2 separate regions of the Homo sapiens genome follow, and region 2 is linked to region 1. Evidence: promoter capture Hi-C in human tissues and cell types (Jung and others, 2019). All regions are on one chromosome and are shown on one strand. Each heading gives the region's core, a stretch centred on a gene start or on the middle of the fragment in contact. The rest is flanking DNA. Distances are from core to core; before and after follow the strand shown.

Evidence for each region. Contacts are between HindIII fragments. The study calls those that stand out against the background at their distance.
Region 2: a contact is called between a fragment that was not itself captured here and the fragment with the promoter of MRPL27 in region 1, in 1 of the 25 tissues and cell types used here (thymus).

What each region holds. Positions count from the first base shown.
Region 1 is chr17:50,369,567-50,375,528 of GRCh38, forward strand. MRPL27 (mitochondrial ribosomal protein L27) reads right to left here and starts at 3,618. Exons shown (of 4, transcript NM_016504.3): 1 at 3,565-3,618; 2 at 889-1,020; 3 at 466-533. The coding sequence starts at 3,604. EME1 (essential meiotic structure-specific endonuclease 1) reads left to right here and starts at 3,663. Exons shown (of 9, transcript NM_152463.4): 1 at 3,663-3,711; 2 at 5,619-5,962. The coding sequence starts at 5,643. RefSeq lists a silencer at 1,207-1,368 and enhancers at 3,152-3,621, 3,762-3,981. The HindIII fragment of the contact is 32,602 bases long and covers 1-5,962 here.
Region 2 is chr17:50,190,572-50,193,071 of GRCh38, forward strand. COL1A1 (collagen type I alpha 1 chain) reads right to left here. Exons shown (of 51, transcript NM_000088.4): 26 at 2,423-2,476; 27 at 2,226-2,279; 28 at 2,069-2,122; 29 at 1,904-1,957; 30 at 1,409-1,453; 31 at 1,217-1,315; 32 at 812-919; 33 at 246-353; 34 at 1-25. Among named protein-coding and RNA genes, the nearest start is that of COL1A1, 9.8 kb to the right of the region's middle. The HindIII fragment of the contact is 7,477 bases long and covers 1-2,500 here.

The DNA of each region.
Region 1 (5,962 bases), core at 2,368-4,867:
TTTCATTAAATTCAAGCTATCTTTCAACCATCTGCAAGTAAGTTTATACAAAGGAAGAAGTCTTAGAATAATGAAAAACTAATAAATTGAAATTAGTTTCCCAAGACTAAAATAATATTTTAAATCACCAGGTATCTTGTCCTCCAAGAACTGAGGGTTAGAAAGGAGAACCAAGAATACCAGGCCAATGCAACACCAGGGCAAATCATAGTGATCTGGGAGTTAGGCAGACCTGGTGCAAATCCCAGCAGTCACTTGCTCCTTCCACCCCGTCTAGGTCTCTGGCATTTCACCTTACTTACAGGGATGTGGTAAGGAAGAAATGAGATCGTGTAGGCATGGGAATCAGCACAATGCTTGCCATTTGGTAAGCACTCAATACATGCAACTGTTATTACCATGCTTAGGGGCAAGGAGAGGTCAACCTAGAAAAGGAAAAAGGGGGGCAGCAACGGAGCAACTCACATGGGCACCTGGGTGCCAGCGGAAATGGCGCTGTGTTGCAATGATGTTCCCAGCATGAACATAGTGACCTAGAAGAGAAGTCCACAGTGACTGGGGCAGCATAGCAAACTACCAAGAAAACATGATGGCCCAAATGCTGCACACCAACCTCCAAGCCTGCCCCTGGCCAAAAACAACTCCCAGACAGTCCAACACAAGCAGCGCAGGATCTGCCACCCAGCAGCTCTTGTCTCTAATTGCATGGTTATGGCTCACACCCACCCACTCGATGACCCTTCCTCAGGTCTTATCCGTTCCTTTAAACTGGAGCCAATTATGATGGTAAGGAAGAACAGGGCCAGGCACACGCAGGGTTCTTCTGCTCTCCTAAGGAACATGAGGACAGGGTGCAGCTAGGAAGGGGAAGCCAAGGCACATCCTCACCTTCCATTTTCTTAATGCCTTGGCGTCTGCCTGATGACTTTCCACCGAGGTTTTTGGAGCTACCACCCGACTTCTTGGATGCGTATCTGACAGCAAGAGCTGTAGCCGGAGTGGGGCTTAGCAAGGATGTAACTGCAGAGAAAACAGAAACATTGTTCAGACAGACAGGCTCAAACTATTTCTGCCTCAATGGGCCACATGCTGATACGTGAGAGGCGGTGGGGAGATGAGAAAGCTGTGTCAGGGGAGCAGAAGTGCCACTGAGTGTATTAGTTCTCAGGGAATACCTCTAAGTCCTTGGCTTTCTCCTTTTGGGGGAGGGGGCGGGGGAGCAGTGAAACACAAATGGAAAAAAATAAACATCATGTGTTCTGGGTTCTGACACATTCAGTCTAAATGTGCTGAGGAGAAATGGACACCAGAGAGCTGCCTGCTTCAGAGGCTCACTCACCCTCATGCACCACGGAGGGGCCAGAACAGACTTGGGGAGCCCAGTACATCCAGAAAGGCTTCGGTTTCAGGCTCACCCACGACTTTCTTTCTTTTTTTTTTTTAAAGACGGAGCTTCACTCTTGTTGCCCAAGCTGGAGTGCAATGGCATAGTCCTGGCTCCCTGCAACCTCCGCGTCCCGGATTCAAGCGATTCTCCTGCCTCAGCCTCCCAAGTAGCTGGGATTACAGGTGTACGCCACCACGCCCAGCTAATTTTTCGTATTTTTAGTAGAAACGGGGTTTCACCATGTTAGCCAGGCTGGTCTCGAACTCCTGACCTCAGGTGATCCCAAAGTGTTGGGATTACAGGCCTCACCCATGACTTTCTCAGCTGTCCACTCATCCACTGCTCACCAAATACTAGTAAACCAAAAGGATGGCTGGCCTAAAAGTGGCTCCCACAGGGTCCTGGCCATTTCAGAAGGCTGGGCCCTTTCTTCTCAAAGCACATCAAGCAGAGGTCCAACCATGACCCACACACTGCCCTTGTTAATCTGACCTCTCCATACTCATTCCAAAGTGCTCAATAGCATTCATTTGCAGAAGTAAAATGAACTAAAATTCATACTAAGATGGTAGTCCCTTGCTGTATGACAAGCCTAGGGGTGCAACTCCTTGCCTGCAGGTCTCCAGACACAGCCATGATTTAAGGTCCATGCCAGTGTCTTTAGAGAAGCCTTGTGGGTCTCTGGAGCCTATAAGTTCAGAGTTCCTGAAGCCTGGGTTTCTGACATTTCCATGACACCAGAGACTAGCTGGGGCAAAGGACCAGAGATAAGGACTCAGAAAGACAACATGTTAAAACATGCCCGGCGCCAGGATCTACCTACCTTTAAACATCTATTCATTCATTTACATACTTACTAAGCTCAGGAGCTGGGCTTTTACTTTACTTACATTATCTCACTCACAAATCTTTGCTCTTCACCCTACTCCCCATCCTCCTCCTCAAAGTAAATGGTACCACCATTCATCCAGTTGCTTAGGCAGAAACCAGAGTCATTGCAGATTCCTTCTCTTTGCTGTCCTCACATATTGTTCACCAGCAAGCTCTGTGGATGCTAACTCCAAAACAGATCTCAAATTCATCCGTTTTCCTCCAAGTTCACTGCCACCACAAACATCTTGGCTAAATCATCTCTCCTCAGGGCTATTACGACTTTCCATTTGATTTCCTCATTTCCACTCCTATCCCCTTTAAATTTACATAAGAGCAATAGTTTGCTTCTCAAAATGTAAAACTGGCTCAAGTCACTCTCCTGTCCCTCACTCTACACAGGTCTAGGTCTCCTGTCATTCTTTTTTTTTTGGGGGGGGGGGATAGGGCCCCATTCTGTCACCCAGGCTGGAGTGCAGTGGTATGAACATAGCTCACTGCAACCTCGACCTCCCGAGCTCAGGTGATCCTCCCACCTCAGCCTCCTGAGTATCTGAGACCACAGGCAAGCGCCACTACACCCAGCTAATTTTTGTATTTTTTGTAGAGATGGGGTTTTGCCATGTTGCCCAGTCGGTCTTGAACTCCTGGGCTCAAGCGATCCGCCCACCTAGGCCTCCCAAAGTGTTGGGACTACAGGCGTGAGCCATCACGCCCCGCCTGTCATTCTTTAGGTTTTAAATGTTATCTCCTCAGAAGCCTTCCTTCACCGTCCAATCTAAAAAAAGACACACACACAGACACACATTATCCTTCTTCACAGCACTTGCCAGTCTACATCTACTTTATATGTTCATTTATTGCCTTATGCACCAGAGAGAACCGTTCGGGGGCTAGAAGCCAAGTCTTCACGTTTTCTGCTGATTTTCCGAACACCTACCGCCGTGTCTAGCACAAAGTAAGACCTCAATCTGCTGAATCAATAGATTAATTTTTTCAACCCCAATATGCCAATGTTACTAATACTTCTACAGAGAAAGGACCCACCCAAATCCCCAACCGCCAAGGAACCCGTCCGTGCTGCTGAGGCAGGAGAAAGACAAGTGCTCTTCAAACGCCCTCACTCACGGCTCCACCCAGGATGTGTCACGTGACCAGCGACACCGTCCCTCAAACCTGGAGTACCCCACACACTTCCCCTCGCATCCAAGGTCCTCCGCGGGGATCAGTGTCACCTCCTTCCCTCCCTGCTGGAGCTCCACTCTGCCTCCCCGCCTCACCCCGCTCTGACTACTGCGTCCCATTACCGGCTGTCCGGGTCCTCAGCGCCAACACCACCGACGCCATGCTTTCGATCACTCACTTCCGGTCTCGAAAAGTTTCTACTTCCGCTATCAGGAGATCTACTTCCGGGCCCTGCGTGGCAGTTGAAAGAGTGGCGGGAGAAGTTGCAGGTGAGCGTCCCCGGTCGCAGGCCTGCGGATTGGGCAGGGCTTCCCTCCTGAACACCGCTCTGCAGAATCTTGGTGGCTAAGGTGTCCAGGAGCCTCTGCAGCGGACCGCCAGCCTGAGAGGCGCAGAGCTTGTCGGGCAGGGGCCCGCTTGTCCCACTCCCCTGATTTGCAGATGTCAACGGAGGCCCAGCGAAGGGTCAGAGATGAGGCCCCCTCCCTAGTCATTCAACTTACTCTACTTAGCCAGCTGTGTGCCAGATGCTGTACTAAGCGCGGTGGATGCATTATTTTATTTAATTCTCACTACCTTATAAAATGGGTGCTGTTACCATCCCTGTTTTACTAAGGAAGAAACTGAGGCCTAGGCAGGTTACATGTCTCCTTCTGGGTCATACCTACAGTGTTAGTAAATGTTCAAGAAATGATTAGCTTTGCATATGACCCAGCAATTCTACTCCTAGGTATATACACGAAAGGGATTTGAAAACATACCCCCACAAAAACTTGTATGTCAGTGTTCATAGCAGCATTATTCATAACAGGCAAAAAAAGGAAACAAATTAAATGTCCAAGTGATGAATGGATAAACAAAATGTAGCATATCCATACAGTGGAATATTATTCAGTCATGAAAAGCAATTAACTACTGATACAGGCTACATCATAGATAAACCTTGAAAACAAGCTGAGTGAAAAAAGTCAATCACAAAAGGCCACATAGTGTATGATTCTATTTATATGAAATATCCAGAATAGGCAAATGCATAGAGACAGATTTATGGTTGCCAGGAGCTGGGGAGGGAGGGAAAGGACAGTGACGGCTTAATGGCTGCAGGAATTCTTTTTGAGGTGATAAAATAGTGATGATGGTTGCACAACATTGTGAATATACTAAAATCTACTGAATGTACACTTTTAAAAGGATATTATGCTGTGCAAATTATATCTCTATTTTTATTTTTATTTTATTTTTCTTTTGAAGCAGGGTCTCACTCTGTCACCCGGGCTGGAGTGCAGTCGTACAATCACAGCTCACTGCAGCCTTGACCTCCCAGGCTCAAGCAATCCTCCCACCTCAGCCTCCTGAGTATCTGGGACTACAGGTGTGAGCCACCATACCCAGCTAATTTTTGTATTTTTTTGTAGAGACGAGTTCTCACTATGTTGCCCAGGCTGTTCTCGAACTCCTGGGCTCAAGTGATCCTTCTGCTTTGGCCTCCCAAAGTGCTGGGATTATACGCATGAGCTACCATGCCCAGCCTATATCTCAATTTTTAAAAAGAACAGTTTTTGGCCAGGTGCAGTGGTTCACACCTGTAATCTCAGCACTTTGGGAGGCCAAGGCGGGCGGATCACTTGAGGTCAGGAGTTCAAGACTAGCCTGGCGAACATGATGAAAACGCATCTCTACTAAAAATACAAAAATTAGCCAGGTGTGGTGGTGGGGCGCCTGTAATCCCAGCTAGGCTGAGGCAGGAGAATCACTTGAACCTGGGAGTGAGGTTGCAGTGAGCCAAGATTGTGCCACTGCACTCCAACGTGGGTGCCAGAGTGAGACTCCATCTCAAAAAAAAAAAAGAAGAACTTTTGACATCTCCATTTCAAACGTGAAGATAAACAAGGGGTTGGAGGTGTTAAATCTTGTTACCACCTCCCCCCATTAAAATTTTGTAATGGTAACTCTACTTTGTTTATACTTCAGCTTGACCTGGAAAGAATTTGAGGAGGATTCCTGTTAGATTACCAGGAGTTAGAGTTCCAGATTGAATGTGTTGGGGCCATGTCATATTTCTCTGTTTCTGTATTCTCTATATCTTATATTTATGTCATAAAGCCTGGCTATGGAACACAGCTAGTGGACTGAATTGAATGCTCCAGTCTGTGTCATATGTCTCTTTTCCTTTTAGGGAATTATTTGATAGCACATACTGATGGCTCTAAAGAAGTCATCACCCTCACTGGATTCTGGTGATAGTGACTCTGAGGAGTTGCCAACATTTGCCTTTCTGAAGAAGGAACCATCTTCAACAAAGAGGAGACAGCCTGAAAGGGAAGAGAAGATTGTAGTGGTTGACATCTCAGATTGTGAAGCCTCCTGTCCTCCAGCACCAGAGTTATTTTCACCACCTGTCCCAGAAATAGCTGAAACTGTCACACAAACACAGCCAGTCAGGTTGCTAAGCAGTGAAAGTGAAGATGAAGAAGAATTTATTCCTCTGGCTCAAAGGCTTACATGTAAGTTTCTGACCCA
Region 2 (2,500 bases), core at 1-2,500, 180 kb before region 1:
CAGGGCCGCTGGGACCACTTTCACCCTGAGAGCAAGGGACAAGAGGCTCAGGGTCAGGGCCTCCCCTGAATACTCCTAGTAGATGACCCCAGGAGAGCCTCCCCTCCTTCTGGTCCCTCCAGGTTCCCAGGTTGACAGCTCAGTTTGGCAGGACCTGCTCTCCCAACGCAACCCCACGGAACCGTGCCCAGGCCTGCTGAGGAGGCTATGTGTTAGGGCAGAAGGTGGGGAGGCGGCCACCTCACCTTGTCACCAGGGGCACCAGCAGGGCCAGGAGGACCAATGGGGCCAGTCAGACCACGGACGCCATCTTTGCCAGGAGAGCCATCAGCACCTTTGGGACCAGCATCACCCTAAAGACATGGATAAGCTTGAGATTTCCAGTGTGGGGCAAGGAGGTGACCTATAGTGTTCTGCTTGTGTCTGGGTTTCCTGAGAGGCCCTCTGCAGCTCTGCCCTGCCTCCACCTGGGCCAAGGACTCAAAGATTCTTTCAGGAAAAAGGGTGCCTGCCTGGAGACTCAGGTGGAACTGAGGTTAAGAGGCCCCTGACTTGTGTAGCGGGATGAATAAGGGAGCCTCCACCAAGGAGATGCCCCCACCTCTCATCACCATGGTAACCCATGGGGATAGATGGGCCTGGACCACAGGGAGAGGATTCATCAGCAAAAAGGCCAGAGGGGAAAGGGGAAGAAGGGAGGATTAGCGAGAAGAGGGACAGATCCCAGAGAGAAGGAGAGATGCTGAGAGATTCAAAGCAGGCAGAGATGGGAGCCATGTAGGGCTCAGGGGAGGGGGAAGGTTGAACTTACTCTGTCACCCTTAGGCCCTGGAAGACCAGCTGCACCACGTTCACCAGGCATTCCCTGAAGGCCAGGGGCGCCCTGGCTACCGGGAGCTCCAGGGGCACCAGCATCACCCTATGTGACAACCAAGAAGACTGGAGTGAGGCCTGGGGCCCCAAGAGTGGGTCACAGCCCTAAGCCCCGCTTGGTATCTCCCAGGCTTGTTTCCAAGGCCAACGACAAGCCTTGAGAAAAGATGAAAAGACTCACAGCCCAGACTCCAGGCTGTGTGTGGGCCCCTGCCCTGGTCTTTTCCCCCCACCCCACACCCTATCTCCATGGCTTTGGTCATGGCCCGCCATCCCCTGCTGCAGGAGGGGTGAGACCTGGTCCCTGGGCCACTTGCCAGAGCCCCTTCCACGCTGCCCTCACCTTAGCACCATCGTTGCCGGGAGCACCGTTGGCCCCTCGGGGACCAGCAGGACCAGGGGGACCTTGCACACCACGCTCGCCAGGGAAACCTCTCTCGCCCTAGAAGGGAAGGACAGGGCATGTGAAGGCTGCTCTGGAGATAGGGCCAAGTACGACGCACCTTGACGGATGCAGCGAGAGAGGCCTACTTACTCTTGCTCCAGAGGGGCCAGGGGCGCCAAGGTCTCCAGGAACACCCTGAGGGGGAGGGAGAGAGGAACAGACAGTGAGCAAAACCCACCTGGGGCCACTCTGCTGGAAAGCACGGTCCTTCCTCCTGGGGTCTGGCCGTGATTAGAGAGGAACCCCTTCTCAGCACTGAATTGAGATTATCCCAAACAGCCCCTCTCTTCCTCCTAGGGATGTGTCAAAGGCTTCCCCCCTCCCCAAACTATGGACCAAGATTTATCAATAGAAGGGTTGAGGGAAAGTCACAGCATATTCCAGCAGCTCTTAAAAGAAGTCACCCAGACTAGCAATCATGCAGCCCCCACTTCCCTCTGTGCTGCTCCCTTCATGGGAGGAAGTTCTTTCCGGCGTCTAACCTCAATCCCTCTAGTTGATGGCTGTCTGATTAGCTAGGAGCGGGGGCCTGTCCCTCTGGATTCCCTGCATCTCCCACCCCTCTGGCCGGCTGCTCCCTCTTACCTGTTCACCAGGTTTGCCTGCTTCACCTGGAGGACCAGCAGGACCAGGGAGACCCTGTAGGTGGGAAATGGGGGAAGAAGGGAGGGAAGGTTTAGAATCTGGAAGAGACCAAAGAGGTGTTTCCTACCCCTACCTCCCAGCATCCTGACAGCCATGAGGCCTCACCTGGAATCCGGGGGAGCCAGCAGGGCCTTGTTCACCTCTCTCGCCAGCGGGACCCTGCACAGAGAGAACACTACAGTCACGGGGAGGCCGAGGAGACGAGGGGCTGAGGGTGTCTCCCCTTTTCTGCTCCCCAGATCTCCCCATCAGGGACACTCACAGCAGGGCCAGGGGGTCCCTGAGCTCCAGCCTCTCCATCTTTGCCAGCAGGACCCTGCAGGGAGAGAGCAAAGGGGAACTCAGGGTTAGGAGGCCCCGAGCAGCTGAGGACCGTGGCCTCTAGCACCCCTCCTGCAGGGAGGAGAAAGTGCCGGGGCAGCAATGGGAAGGAGGTAGGGATGGAAAGGAGATACTTACGACAGCGCCAGGGGGTCCGGGAACACCTCGCTCTCCAGCCTTGCCGGGCTCTCCCTGTGGAGAAAGGGAGTTAGGGTT